Regions from separate parts of the Homo sapiens genome. Here region 1 is linked to region 2. Evidence: promoter capture Hi-C in 16 types of primary human blood cells and fetal thymus (Javierre and others, 2016). All regions are on one chromosome and are shown on one strand. The core of a region is centred on a gene start or on the middle of the fragment in contact, and the rest is flanking DNA. Distances in the headings are between cores, read along the strand shown.

The links. The method cuts DNA at HindIII sites, captures the fragments that hold promoters and counts their contacts. A CHiCAGO score of 5 or more calls a contact.
Region 1: a fragment that was not itself captured here is called in contact with the fragment with the promoter of BMP8B in region 2 in 1 of 17 cell types (megakaryocytes); the score reaches 5.7 in megakaryocytes.

What each region holds. Positions count from the first base shown.
Region 1 is chr1:39,672,772-39,675,471 of GRCh38, forward strand. No RefSeq gene overlaps it. Among named protein-coding and RNA genes, the nearest start is that of NT5C1A, 2.0 kb to the left of the region's middle. The HindIII fragment of the contact is 1,373 bases long and covers 662-2,034 here.
Region 2 is chr1:39,787,416-39,790,115 of GRCh38, forward strand. BMP8B (bone morphogenetic protein 8b) reads right to left here and starts at 1,450. Exons shown (of 7, transcript NM_001720.5): 1 at 737-1,450. The coding sequence starts at 1,070. LOC101929536 (a long non-coding RNA gene) reads left to right here and starts at 1,561. Exons shown (of 1, transcript NR_135805.1): 1 at 1,561-2,700. RefSeq lists a silencer at 1,402-2,001 and an enhancer at 1,556-2,057. The HindIII fragment of the contact is 19,151 bases long and covers 1-2,700 here.

The DNA.
Region 1 (2,700 bases), core at 98-2,597, 110 kb before region 2:
AGGCCAGAGAGACTCCCAGGGACTCTGAACCCGAATTCTTGCTGGCCCTTTGGTGGTCAGCAGAGGGCGCGCATTCCTAGGCCCCCACCTGCCCAGCTTGGGGTGATTTGTTATAGGCCATGAAGGGGCTGGATAGAGGGAGGGCAGAAGAGGGGCCTCGGAACTACCATCCTGGAATTCCAGGGTGTTGTCCCTCTTGATGCAGAGCTCTGTACTAGTCTCAGGGTGCAGACACAAATGTCACCCATCCCAAGGTACAGGCCAGGAAGCAGACAGCCTCTCTCAGAGGTGTGCATGGGTGGGTGGGAGAAGCAGGAGAAAACACTGGCTTAGCTAGGAGGGCCTCTGACTGGGGAGGTGAGGGGGCTACAGAATGGAGTGATCCCCTCAGCCTCCACCAGGTCCTGGGAGGAATAAACCAACCCTTGTGTGGGAGGAAGGGAAAAATCATAATAAAATGTTAGGATTGGGGGAAGTGTGTTTAGACTTACTTCTAGAAGATTGTTTCCAGAGATGGCCCAAAAACCTCTTCCATCCTGCCTGTCCTTTGGAAATGTGACTTTGACATTCCTCCCATTCAGAGGTGGAGTCCAGTCTGAGCTGGCCCTGTGACTTGCTTTGACCAATTGAATGGAGTAGAAGTGGTGCTCTGTGGTTTCCAAGCTTACGTCTTAAGAGGCCTTGCAGATTCCATTTTTGCCCTCTTGGGAGCCAGCTACTATGTAAATAAGTCTGGACTATCCTGCTGGAAAGGCCACGTAGTGAGACAGATAGGACCTGGAGGATAAGAAGCTAGCGACAGCCCAGGTGACTATAGGCACAATTGACAGACATGTGAATGAGGCCATCCTGGCTGTCCCAGCCCCAGCTCAGCTCCCAGTGGAGTGCAGCTATGTGGGTGACGCCAGCCAACACAACCTGAAGCAGTAAAACCTTCCAGCTGAGCCCAGCCAACTCACAGAATCATCAAAAATAATAAATTGTTGTTTCAGGCACCAAGTTTTGGGGTAGCTTGTTACACTGCAATAAATAATTGAAACTCTAGGAATGAGGTCAATTATTCTCAGGTGCCTCATGGAGAAGAATGATGAAGTAACTCAGGAAGAATACATAGAGTGGTTACTTGGATGGAGGTGGGCACTTCACACAAAAGTGAGCCACCCCCATGCTGTCCAGCGGCCTTTAATCTGTGTGATTGGCTTGAAAAGATGACCTGGGCCAAGCAGATTTGTCTTTCTCAGGAATTTGGAATTGGGAAATGGGCTGGGCAGTCAACCATTGGAATAGAAGCTGAGGATGCTGTGAAATACAGTTGGCTCCGAAGAGACCTGGGTGAGCCTCAGCAGACTGCAGTTATATGCAAAGTAAAGCTCGGCGCAGGTGGAGACTCTCTGAGCAGAATGAGATGAGCAGCAGATCAAGATGGGAAAGGATGTGCAGAGAGCAGCACATGAGAGAAACCATGCTGCCCTGAGATGGAGCCGCCTCTGCTCCTGACAGTTTCCCAAGTTCTAGCTAAGGCCTGGCTCTGGTGCCCATCTCTACACTTTCATGAGATTCTCCACATTGTTTCAACAAATGCCCCCAAAAGGAAATTTGGTGGATTGTGGTTTTGCTTGAGTGGCCACTTTTCCCGGCCTCTCTTTCTAATAAAAAGCCCTGCCTCCCTGGTTTTCTGGTCAAGAAGTACCAGACCTGGTACAGAGACCTGTAACTGAGACCTGACCAATGGCGGAGCCCTGTGTCCCTGGACACAAGGATGAGCATGTGACCCCAGCTGAGACACTCTTCACTCTTATTTAGGGCTTCTGGGAGATTTGGCTCTTTTTCTCTGAGGTTGTTAATTTGGGGCAATGTGAGCTGGGAACCCATTTGGCAGGTGAAAGAACATGGAAGAAGCACATCTGGAAGGACAATGGTGCCACAGAGAGAGAAGCAGAAGGAGGGAGGGAGAGAGGATGCAACTGAGTTTCTGGACCCAGCCATGCCTGAACTTCCCAATTACATGAGCCAATAAGCCTCCCTTTTTGCTTAAGCTTGTGTGAGTTGGATTTCGTTCACTTGCAACCAAAAGTCCCAACTAATCCATTCCCCTTTACTCACCCTGCCATGAGTAGGCACTGTTCCTTGCCATCAAGGAATCCTGCCCAGACTCCTGGTTCAGTCCCTTTAAGAACTTTCCCCGGGCCGGGTGCGGTGGCTCATGCCTGTAATCCTAGCACTTTGGGAGGCCGAGGTGGGTGGATCACAAGGTCAGGAGTTCAAGACCAGCCTGACCAACATGGTGAAACTCCATCTCTACTAAAAATACAAAAATTAAAACTGGGTGTGGTGGGGTGCGCCTGTAATCCCAGCTACTCAGGAGGCTGAGGCAGGAGAATTGCCTGAACCCGGGAGGCAGAGGTTGCAGTGAGCCGAGATCATCGTGCCACTGCGTGCCAGCCTGGGTGACAGAGCGAGACTCTGTCTTAAAAAAAAAAAAGAACTTTCCCCAGATCCTTCTTTGGAAGGATTAGAGAACTTGATCCTTAACTGTTCTTTCCACCCTTCCAGGCTTCTGGCCATGCTCTCTGGCTTGCCTGTCACTTGCTAATAGCTGGCTGGGTGCAGGGCTTCCCTGGCTCAGGGTTTCTGGACTCCAGCCAGGACTTTGCCTCCAGGTCCAGCACTTCTTCAGATGAATAAGCTGGGAACAGACCC
Region 2 (2,700 bases), core at 200-2,699:
ATCTCTGAGATCTTAGGGAATAAATAGCTCCAGGGTTTGATACAAGATATTTGCAGACAGGAAAAGCCGGGCTTTGCCTGGGAGAACAAAGTGGGTCCAGCTGCCCACTGGACCATTCCACAGGACTGGACACTCACCCCATACCAGATCACATCCCAGGTGTTGGGCCCAGGGTGACAAGGCAACAGTCCCTGCCCCAGCGAGCTGAGTTTGCTCCTTCCCCAGCCGCCCCCCTGACAGCCGCACCCCACCCAGGCTCCGCACAGAGAAGAGCCTGCTGTGGACTCAGGGCACGCGACTCAGCTCTGGTCACTCCGATGTGACCACAGGTTTCCACGCTGAACTTTGTCCCTCTCCTCAGTACTGCCCTTATCACAGTGACAGCATCCCGGCCTCTGTTTACTCACCTGTCTCCCCAGGACCAGGCTGTCTTCCCGGGGCAGCCCAGGTGGGCAAAGACATCACCTGATTCTTACTCCTGGGTGTGTTTGGGGCAGGGTGAAGGCAGCGCCTGGGAGTCCACAGTCCCCCACACTCTGCTCCTGACCACCCCGCAGCCCAGGGGGCCCCCATGACCCTTAGACCTTCCCTAACCACGGCGGTCCCACTCCCCTGTGGTTCGCGTCCACCGTCTGTGACTCCCCGTTCGGCCAGGGCCCGGCACAGCCCGCGGATGCGCGCCCCTCCCCTGCAGCCAGCTTACTCCGAGGGTCCCCGCGCGGGCGGCCGCACTCACCCATGTTAACGAAGCTCATGACCAGGTCGGCGCGGCCCAGGCGCCGCTCCGCGGGCGCGCCGTCCTCGTCGTCGTCGCCGGCCATGGCGTGGTACAGGTCCAGCATGAAGAGCGGCGCGGACGCGGGCAGCCGGGAGGCGGCGGGTGGCGCGCGGGGCCGGGGCCGCCCAGGCAGCCCGAGCACCGCCAGGATCTCGCGCTGCACGTCCCGGCGCTCGCGCGCGCCCAGACGTCGCTGGGGACAGCCGGGCGGGGGTCGCAGGCCGGGGCCGCCCCCGCCCAGCGCGCATAGCGCCAGGCCCAGGAGCCAGAGCGGGCCGGGGAGCGCGGTCATGGCAGGCCGGGGGCGCTCAGCTGGGGCGCTCAGCGGGCGCGCATCGGCTCCGCGGCCGACCCAGGGCCTGGGGACGCCCCGACGGCAAGGAGGCTGGGCTCGGCGGGCGGCGGGCGGCGGGGCGGGGCGGGACGGGCGGCGACCGCGGCCTCAGCGCGGTCCCTGGAGCGCCCGCCGCGCGACACCTGTCCTGGCTCCTGGACGAGAGGACGCGGACGCCACCGCCTCGAGGCCGGGGCTACTCTGCGGACTGGGACTCTCGGCCAATCCGTCTGTCGCCGCCGTACCCGCCAGTCCGGCTGTGGCCGCGGTCCGAGCAGCGCAGGGGCGATGGGCGAGCTCCTGCAGCCACCCGCTTGGTGCGGTTCCCGCGAGTCCCTGCCCTGCCCTGCCCAGCGGTCCGCGTCGCCCGCCCCCACCCCGGGACTGACCAATGGGGGGGCGGGGGCGGGGCCTGGGAGCGGGGGCCACGCCTGCGAGGGGGCCCGGGGCTGCGGCCGGTGTCGCGGGTGGGGAGACCCCGAGGTGCTACCTGGGCGTGGCGGGTGGGCAGGCGGCCCGGGCGAGGGGCTCGCAGCCTGGGCGTCAGCGTGGTCATGGCCGTCGTGGCTTCCGCCGCGGGCCTCGGCGCAGAGATCCTAGGGCCGCGGCGCCCTTCCGGTCCCGCCAGTGGTGCCACCCGGCCGCCCCGCCGTCGCGTGCGCGGGTCGCCATGGCATGCTGCAGGCGCCTCCTTCCCGGCACCTGCTCAGCTGCTCCTCCCCGCGCCCCCACCTGGCTCCCGCGTGAGCCTGGGCAGCGCCCCAGGCAGGCCGCCCCCGCCAGCCCTCGCTGCGCGGCGTGCGCCCCCTGCGCCCCCAGTACTGATCCAGCTTCGCGGGGGAGACGCGCACCCGCCTCCTGCCTTTAGCCGGGCCAGGAGCTCTGGGGCCCTTCTGGAGCACCCGGGAGCCACCTGTGCACTTCTCAGTCGCCACGGCCCCGGTGCAGGCCTGGCAGGAGAAGGATCCCCGCGGAAATGCCTCTACTAACTCAGCCCCTTTCTGCACTCTCTGCTCTTCTCTGGGCGCGCTCTCGCCTTACTTATTCCTGTGTGGTTCAGGCGCTGCGGAAGGAGAAGGCACCTAGACTGTACTGGGAAGGCTCCTGGAGTTGACCTGGAGCGCCAGGAAAGGTCAGTGGAGGAAAGTGCTCCAAGCAGAGGGAAGAGCTTGTGCCAAGGCCCTGAGACCCCGGCGGGGGAGCCTAATAATGGCAGGTAACAGTCAGCACTTGCCACGCGCGAGGCATGTTCTCAGTGTGTGTCTTGTGTCATTTCTGTGATGCTTGCACATCGTCAGGGGGTACCTACCACTGGAACCTCCTCTTTTAACAAATGAGGAAACTGAGGCACACAGCGGTTAAGGGACTTACGCTAGGTCACACAGCAGTAGAGCTGGGCTGGGGCAGGGGGCAGCTCCTCAAGTGGAACCTGGAGAGCCCACGGGGCAAATGGCGGAGGCTGGAGGGGCTGGCAAGGGAGGGACTGCAAAGGGCCTCACAGGGGCTAGACGAGGGCCCTGGGCACCAGTGATTATGGTGCCCCCCCATGTGGATTGAAGATTAAACCTCGAAGCAAGTGTATAATGCC